2 separate regions of the Homo sapiens genome follow, and region 2 is linked to region 1. Evidence: promoter capture Hi-C in 16 types of primary human blood cells and fetal thymus (Javierre and others, 2016). All regions are on one chromosome and are shown on one strand. Each heading gives the region's core, a stretch centred on a gene start or on the middle of the fragment in contact. The rest is flanking DNA. Distances are from core to core; before and after follow the strand shown.

Evidence for each region. The method cuts DNA at HindIII sites, captures the fragments that hold promoters and counts their contacts. A CHiCAGO score of 5 or more calls a contact.
Region 2: the fragment with the promoter of EMSY-DT here is called in contact with a fragment that was not itself captured in region 1 in 1 of 17 cell types (total CD8 T cells); the score reaches 5.7 in total CD8 T cells.

The regions. Positions count from the first base shown.
Region 1 is chr11:76,230,480-76,235,032 of GRCh38, forward strand. No RefSeq gene overlaps it. Among named protein-coding and RNA genes, the nearest start is that of TRP-AGG2-4, 2.8 kb to the right of the region's middle. RefSeq lists enhancers at 1-73, 2,913-3,459, 4,007-4,553. The HindIII fragment of the contact is 3,049 bases long and covers 770-3,818 here.
Region 2 is chr11:76,442,771-76,447,323 of GRCh38, forward strand. It overlaps EMSY-DT (EMSY divergent transcript), which reads right to left and starts at 1,910. Exons shown (of 2, transcript NR_186348.1): 1 at 1,508-1,910. It overlaps EMSY (EMSY transcriptional repressor, BRCA2 interacting), which reads left to right and starts at 2,248. Exons shown (of 22, transcript NM_001300942.2): 1 at 2,248-2,358; 2 at 4,130-4,238. The coding sequence starts at 4,169. RefSeq lists enhancers at 1,253-1,888, 1,889-2,525, 2,226-2,455, 2,656-2,705, 2,746-2,815 and 1 more. The HindIII fragment of the contact is 4,130 bases long and covers 1-3,861 here.

The DNA of each region.
Region 1 (4,553 bases), core at 1,044-3,543:
GGGGTCCCCAGAGCCTCTGGGAGACCATACGTCCCCCCAGCCCCTCATGGCCACACCTCACCTGGTCTTCGTTTGCTCTGTGACTCTGTCTGGGGTAATTCTCGCCAAGCAGGGTCAGCCCCTGGGGAGCAGGCCGCTAATGAGCTTCAGATGCCGGGGCCAGACTCGGTCTTGCAGCAGGCAGAAGCTCAGATGCTTTGGCTGATTTAGGATGCCTGGCCAGTGGGGATGGCTCGGAGAGGACACCTCCCCTCCCTTCACAGGTTACCCCACTCCTGACTTGCACTGGGCACAGCAGGTGCCAGTGTTTAACCCCCAAACCCCAGCCAGGGCAGTTGTTTCAAGATCCGGAAAAGGACAGACAAGCTGGAGGACAGATGCATTTCCATCACTTGGGAACTTAGTTCTTCTTCTCCCAGGACTTTTCTGGGTCCTGAGCTGGTGTTTCTACCAAGGTAGCAGCAGGAAGGGGGAAGAGAGAGGGACAAGCTGCTTTCTGATAGCCAATCACGCACACTCTGGGCTGGGTACAAATGTCATCTTCTCCAACCCTCACAGGAACCCCACAAAGTTCCTGAGGTGAGGACTGTCACCAAGCACTTCACAGGAGGAAACAGAGGCTCAGAGAGGGGAGATGATTTGCTCAAGGTTACACAGCCCCTGAGTGGCCAAACTAGGGTTCCAGCCCACCTCTGTCAGAGCCCACACTCCACCTGCAACATGCTGGGATGTTTCTAGAAGACCAGAATGGTATATATTGTGATCTCCAAGCTTTGTGAATGGTGAGGGCCTGTGGCCACATGGGTTTCAGACACTCAGGCTGCCTCTGCAGCTGACTTACTCCCTGATCTTGACAAGGCAGCAGATTTCACATCTACAAAATGGGGATCATCATCACAAGTTCAGGTGAGGTAATGCTAACTGTCATCATCACATTCTCAGCCATGCCCAGAACACATTCTGGGAGCCAGACTCACTGCCAGAGGCTTTTTGTCGGGGAGCTTTAAAAAGCGTGGATGCCAAAGCTCTGCTACCTACTAGCTGTGTGACCCTGGCCAAGTTACTGTGCCTCTCTGTGCCTGCATTTCCTCATCTGAGGAAATAAATGAGGATAATATTAGTTCCTATCTCAGAGTTGGTGTAGAGTTAGGTGCGTTATAAAGGGATTAGAAGGATGCCTGGCACAGGGGGTGCATCTAGCACGTGTGTTAGCTAACACTGGGCTCGACCTTGTGAGACACGTGTTGTTTTTCCCAAAGTAGCAATGTGGAAACTGAGGTCATGCAGCACAGTGATTCTCCAACTGAGTGTGCAGAGTCACATGGAGAGTTTGTTAAAATCCTAAGGGCTGGGCCCACTGGAGCATTAAGTCTGGGTTGGGGCCTGAGAATGTGCATTTCTAGCATGTTCCAGGTCACGCTGAAGCTGCTGGTGTGGGGCCCACACTCGGAGACCCACTGCTGTGGTGGGCCTGGGTATGGCTCCTGGTATGCGGGGGCCAGCTAGTTCCATACATGATCCGGTGAGTGAGCAGGTGAGTGAATGCACGGAGCAGAAAGGATGTTGGACTCTAGTGATCCTTCATGGCTCTCTCTCTCCTCTCTCAGCCCCGAGGGTTGTGGCTCATCCCCTTCACATCTTCTCTGAACCTGAATTGGGAAGATCCCCACCACACTGTCCCCCACACCCCATGGCAGAGGGCAGCGTGCTTGCTGTGGCCACAGGCTGCATAAAGGGGCCTGTGTGCTGGCTGCTCACCTCCCACTGTGCGCCCAGTGGTTTTCTATTTCAGTTGCTGTAAAAATATCACCTTTGATCTCAGCCTGTGGCTCTTAAGAAAAAAAGAAGAAACCACCAACAGGCTGGGTTTTCATTCTCCCCTGGCCCCGCCCTGCTCTCACCTCAGCTCCCAGCTCTCTCCCCTCCTTCCATTCCACCCCATTCACCCTCTCCTCTCTGCATCACAGCCCCCTGGACCCGGGGCACCTTGGGAACCCGTGGGCCCTTCTCTCTCTATGTGTCACCCCTTGCCCCCGCGCGGGGCTGCCTGCAGGAAGAACAGTATAAATAAGGGTGTGTGTAGAGGAAGACCACCCTCTCCCCTCCTCCCTGTCTCCCTGCCCCTTCCCCTCTGCTCCAAGTTCCCCTGCTTGGCCAGGTCCAGGCCTCTTCTCCAGCACTGTCAAGCACGTGGTATCCATCATAACCCTGCATCTGTGGAGGCTTGGGTCCTCCCAGAGTGGAAAGAGAAGAGCGAGGGGCCTAAATATTTAGATCACACCATCTACTCAGGGACCCCTCAGCCGCTCAGAGATGCCTGGAGGAGTGGTCTTCAGGCCTGATGGTTCCAATATCCCACCTCCTGGCTCAGCAGGCAGACAGACAACCCCCTCTCCTTGACCCCAAGCCCCCCACACGCCCCCCAACACACACACCCCTTTCCTTTCAGCAAACTCTGGGGAGAGGCACATGCAGCCCTCCTGCCCCCCTAGGGTGGTCCTGCATACTCTGGCCTCTGTGCCCTGACATTCTTTTTTTTTTTTTTTTGAGGCAGGGTCTCACTCTGTCACCCAGGCTGGCTGGAGTGCAGTGGCGCGATCTCCGCCTCCCAGGTTCAAACGATTCTCATGCCTCAGCCTCCCAAGTAGCTGGGATTAAAGGCATGCCATCACACCTGGCTAATTTTGTAGTTTTAGTAGAGATGGGGTTTCGCCATGTTGGCCAGGCTGGTCTCAAACTCCTGACCTCAAGTGATCTGCCCGCCTTGGCGTGAGCCACCCCGTGCCCTGCCTCCCTGACATTCTTGAGCCTACTTGCTCCACGCAGGCCTCTTAGCCAGAACTTTTCTGGTTGGAAAGTCACCTTCTCACCTACTGGAGCCCTTCCTGCCCTGCTACCCCACTGGCTAGTGAGGTCATCTCCAAGGGTCCCAGCTCTGGCAGAGGGACCAAAGAATCCCACCACCTCCCTAAGAAGTTTCTTGGCTGACAGGCATTTTGTGCCAATGGAGGGGGCAAGCAAGCCTTGAACCTCTGACTCACGCCAGGCTTTGAGCTGTTACGGTGTCTTTTTTTGGCTTTGGGTTTTACAGAAAGACAAAGTACCACTCATTCAACAAACGCTTTACAGGTCATCTGCATTGGGCCCTGTGCTGACATGGCCACTCCTCAGGGAACCCTCCCTCACACTCTTGTGGGTAGAGACACAGATGTGTGCAGGGGTCAGGCATCCAGGCAACAGGGAGTGCAGGGGCTGGGGGCACTTGGAGAGGTGTCTGCCTGGAGGTGGAGGTGGTGGTGCAGAAACCGCAAGGCCTGGAATGTGCAGGAAGCTGGGGGCAGCCCCAGCTGGAATGAGCAGCTTCCACTGGAGCCATGGCTGGAGTGTTCACGGAGTGAGGAGGGCCTGAAGAGAGGTGAGTGGGGAGGGGTCAGGCCTCAGAAAGCCCAGGTGGCAGGTAAAGAGCTCAGCCATTGCTCCCAGGGTGGAGCCACCGCAGGGTTTGAAGAGACTGTGGGTGTGGGACTGTCCATGGGGAAGGCCTGTCTGGAGGCACAGAAGGCCCGGGCAGAGGATGTAAGGTCCTGGGTGTGTGTCCAGGCCATAGCCTCATTTAGCAGTAACCACAGTCCGCCAGGGCCCAGACTGAGCTCCTTGCAGACCAGTCCACAGCCTTGGGCTAGGCAGAGGGTGCAGCCAGTGTGGCAACCACTGGGCAGGGGGTTCAGGAGGCAGGGTTGACTCATCAGTGTCCCCAGGGCCCAGCCCGGGGGTGGGGCAGAGCAGGCGCCAGTGGAAGTGTGTTGTGGAGTGAAAGAAGCTTTACAAAGGCTTCCAGCGACTGACTGAAGGTATTTCTTCCTGCCCGCACATCCTCAGACCTGGGAATAAGGAAACGTGAGGCTCCAGCCAGCTCCTGAAGGCGCAGGACATAGCTGAAAGGAGTTTGGAAAAGGGCCACTGGGCAAAAGTCCTTCCAGGGCGTCACAGTCTCAGTTTCCTCATCTTGAAGTCAGGGTGTGTGGGGGGTGGAAAGGGGTGGGGAGGGAGAGAGAGCGCAACGGAAATTGGCTGGACTGATCTGCACCGCTGGCTCTGCACTGCTAGTAGCCTTGTGATGGAGGCCAGCACAGCCACTACCTTCCGCTCTCCTACGGGGGACAGGGCGCGGTGGTGGGGAGCTCCCAATTCTCTCTGGCAGGCAAGAAGGCAGACCTTGTGACCCCGTTTTCACCAGGGGGGCATGCTGAACACATTGGCTACGTGTCCCAAGGACACTGAGTCACGAGGTGGAAGAGCTCCATGGAACCCGTTTCTCGGAGTGGGTCTGGCACCCCTGTTCCCCACAGAGGCTTCTCGGGGAGCCTAGAACCCATGGACCGTGGACGCAGAGGCGAAGCACGGGAAACCGTGCCAGGCGCCCCACGTGCTGGGAGGCCCATTCGGTGAACCAGAGTCGGTGGGTTCCGCCCAGGATTCGGTAGCTAAACCGAGAAACTGCACATCTGACCCAGCCCTGACCGAAATGTCAGGCCAAAGCCTCACAATGTCAG
Region 2 (4,553 bases), core at 660-3,159, 210 kb after region 1:
CCTATTGACCATTAAAGTTTAGAACCACTGGTCTAGAGCATAGGCTCTGGAGCCAACATAATCAGGTTTAAATCCCAGCTTTAGCTTTTTTTTTTTTTTTTTTTTTTAAGATGGAGTCTTGCTCTGTTGCCCACGCTGGAATGCAGTAGAGCGATCTTGGCTCACTGCAACCTCCACCTCCCTGGTTCAAGCAATTCTCCTGTCTCAGCCTCCCGAGTAGCTGGGATTACAGGCACATGCCACCATGCCCAGCTAATTTTTGTATTTTTAGTAGAGGTGGGCTTTCACCATGTTGGCCAGGCTGGTCTTGAACTCCTGACCTCAAATGATCCACTTGCCTCAGCCTCCCAAAGTGCTGGGTTTACAGGCGTGAGCCACCATTTACTTATGTGTGACTTTAGGCAAGCTATTTTGCTTCTTTCCTAGACTTTAGTTGCCTCCTTTGTAATTAGAGATAATAAAAGTTTCCACCTCATAAAGTTGTTCTAAGGACTGAATTACTATGTAAAATGCTTAGACCAGTATGTGGCACTTAGTAAGCACAAGGATTGACTATAATAATTCATCACTCATATGCTACTTCTTAAGGTCAGAGTCAGTTTTATAAGCCCCTTGTCTTTCGATTTGTACTCCATTGTAGAGGAGTAGACATTCATTGTCATTTTGACATTCACTGTAGAGGAAAGGACATTTGGAGGTCAGAAGACCTGGGATTACAAAGCCTAGCTCTCTTCCAATTCCTAGCTCCGTGAAATTTGGTGAGTCCTTGGTACATCTATGTTTTTCTCATTCATAGTATGAAAGACCTTAATCGTACCTGTCACACTGAAATGTTGCGAGGCTCAAATCAAATAATATATGTTAAAGTACAAAAATCCTCTATGAAGATTTCACTTACTATCTTTCCAAGAGTTCTTAAGCAACTGGATGCATAGGAAGGTCAGGGAGACAGCGGAGGGAGGGCCTGGTGATTAATATGTTCCACTTTACGATTTTCTGAAGGTGTAGGTTGGGTTTCAACAACAGTGACTTTCCTAGACCTCGGAGGGTATTTTTAGCTAATGGGCAAATAGTAGTAGGAAACTTAAATGCTGTTATTTACCTTCTCTTCCTAACCTACAGTTCCACTCAAGAACATGAAGAGTCTCATACGTTTGTATAGTGGTTCACAACTTACAACGTTTACGTGGTGCATCACAAGATCCCTATAGGGTAGTATTAACCCAATTTTTCAAGAAGGAAACTATGTCTGGAAATTGTAGAATGCACATTAAAAACTCTTTCTGACGAGCGTTTCTACCGGATCCGATGTTACCCAAAGTACAAAATTTAAAGAGGGAAGTCAATCACAAGATTTCATTGAATCTTCAGTATCAGGCAACTGGCTTCTATTTTATGGCCGCAAATAACTATATATTGGGCCCCTTTTCTCACCTGTAAAATAGGAACGAAAAGACCTTCTCCACAAATAAGATGAAATAAGAACAAAGGCTGAGGGTGAACCTACCACGTCGTAGGGCCTCAAATAAATTCCTTCTCCTTCTTGCCCTTGACAGAGATAGCACGAGATATCACTACCATTCCCACTTCACACGTGGAGGAAATCCAACGCGAGAACGCTCGGATTTCCCCTTCTTTACTTGCAACAACTCCGTAACCCGCAAATCGGCTACGGACAACTGCGATGTCCACTATGTTAGTTCTCGTAGCGTGGATTCTCTCTCCTCAAGATGCCATCTGGGGGGCTAGAGGCCACTAATAATTGCCCTCACGATCGAAGAAACTCGATCCTAATCCTCGACGGCACTTCAGGAACAAAGCTGCTCTCCCATCGTCCCTAACCTCACTACCGTAAAGGTCGCAGCAGAGCCCCTGCTCCAACCGCTAGCGCCATCTTGGCCGCTACGTGTGACGCCACACGTAGCAGAGAGCGCAGCCGATTGGCTGGGAGACGGCAGCCCAGGAGAGGCGCGCGAAGCCAGAGACAGGAGGGTATGCAGGAGAAACCAAGGGAACTACAATCCCGGCCTTCCTTGCGCGTACGACAGCAAACCTGGAGCGAAAGAGGTTGGAGTTTGGATTCGGACCACAACTCCCAGCACCCTCCGCGATGTCTGTCCTTTTCTTTCATAACGCGGAGGAAAAGAAGGACAAGATGAATGGAGGCCTTTTGGTGTTTGTTCTCCGAAAGGCGGGAAAAGCGAACTACACCTCCCGACTGGCCGCGCGCGGCTGCGCCTGCGCCCTGTTACCTGTCGCCATCTTGCCCCTTCAGAGGCACCGCAAACAAACCCAATTCCTGGTGTCCCCTAGTCTTGGCGGAGGAGCCTTTTAGATGAGCCCCGAAAGGCCGGGCAGGTGGGTGACTCTCAGGCAGGGTCCTGGGAAGAGCTGGCAGGCCAGCCAGGCTAGAGGAGCGCCGGGCCAAGCATTCGGAGCCCGGCTTGGGGCTCCCAGCCCCATCCTCCGTTGTTTCCTAACGGGATCGTGGGGCTCCCCGGGGTGGACTCAGGGGGACTCTGGCTGGCCTGGTGCTGGGACTCTGGGGGTTTAGCTCTGGGAGACTCCCGGTGAGTCCAGGTCGTCTGGCTGGGTATCCGCTGGCTTACTCTCTCTCGGTTGTCCTCTCCGCTGGGGAGGGAGTGAGGCGCGGGTGCCGGCCGGGACCCCTGACAACAGCTACTGGCCCAGAGGGGCTTGGGTCGTGGACTTGACATTGGGACCGGCGCCGAGAGGTCCGGGTGAGGAGCCTGGGCTGGCTGCTCTTGTTGTGGTGCTGCTAGGGAGTGCGTGTTTGGAGAGGGGGCGGGGCGGGCTTGTCTCCTTGACACTTGAGTGGGGAAGGATCCTACAAGATCCTGGTTCCCCGAGCGGGCTCCGGAAACTACTGCCCGGGTTTCCGATGCGTTGCGGCCCCGCTCTGGGGTCCCCTGGCTAGGACGCGCCGGGATGCCGTGACGTGGTGCTCGGTTCGAGCAGTCGCCGGCCGCCTCCAAGATCCTGTCGGGAGGCGGGGACTGGCTTGTGGAGGGAGAGGATTCCTTTGGCTCTGCCCCTTCTTCCTCCTCCCCACCCCTTTTCTTTATGTCATACTGCCGGCTGGGGCGCGCAGTCCAGTTCTTCTTGCCTTGGGTTTGTTCTGAGCTGAGAGGACTATGGGAAGTAGGGGGAGGGGGGCTCACCTCGGGACACAGAGTTGGAGTTAGCAGCCCCAGCGCCTGGAACGGGATATAGCAGTTATTTCGGTTCGGTGTCTGACTTCTAGGCTAGACAGTGAGCTCGTTCATTCATTCATTCATCCATTCGTTTTGCTCAGTCGCGTCAACCATTCACTTACCCATTTAACAAATACTTAGAGCGGCTCTACTCTGTGCTAAGCAGGTATTGCGCGTGCCCCCAGAGCCGTGTCTTTTTGTCTTTTACACTAGGAAATTCCCAGTTCTAAGTAAGTTCCTGGCAGCTCAACTGTTGGTAAATGGCTGTTTAATAACTACAGGATCAAAATTCATATTCCATTAAGACTTGAGAGAGTATATATATATGTGTGTGTGTGTATATATATATGTATATATATATGTGTATATATATATATGTATGTATCGTTCCAATTTTAGTATATGTGTTGCTGAAGCGAGCACGAGGAGTTATTTATTAAGTTTCTTTAACTTGCTAGGAGCTTTACAAATTTTATCTCATGTAATTCATAAATGAGGAAGCTGACAGGAGTCAACTTGCCCCAGGTTGGTAGTACCACCTGTTTATTAAATGAAATGCCAGCCACTATGAAAGAACTTTATATATAGTGTTCTTTAATACGCGTAACAAACTGGGTGGTATTACCTCTGTTTTATAGATGTGTAAAGCTTAGGCTTAACCAGTAAGTTGAAAAGTTGGGACTAGAAACCTAGAGGTGTCTGGCTCTAAAGCCTGTGTTCTTTCCACTGTGATAGTTCAAATGACTTAATTCTTGATTTCTCAAAAGTTGGAAAGTGTGGTGGTGAGAAAGGATTGTAAAATAGTAATATCTTTTTGGTTTACTTCTTAGCCTGTGACTGGATCTCCAGGTGAGTGGCCCCTTGAATGTACTTTGGTACTTTGGTAATTTGACTTTTTTTTTTTGTTCTGGTAGGGAGGACAAGCTCTTTGGGGCTACCAAACAGAAGCAGCAATGCCTGTTGTGTGGCCAACCCTTCTGGATCTCAGCAGGGATGAATGCAAAAGAATTCTTCGAAAATTGGGTATGACGTTCATTGTTTGTTTTTTACCTCTCTCTGATACCTTTTTTCCCTTTCTGCCTAGGTCATAGCTGTTTGCATGGATGTCATATCTCACGCTACATCAGAAATTCTTTGGAGATACAGTTCCCATCTTACTCATTGTTGTTTCCCTCAGTGCCTAACATAGTGCTTTGTAAATAGTAGGTGTGTGAATTGTAATAATACTAGTAGCTAAGATTTATTGAGGGCTACTTGGCTATTCTGAGTCTTTTTTATACAACATCTAATTTAAATATTTTAAGAATTAGCTTTGTCCTTTGAAAGCCTAAAAGGTAG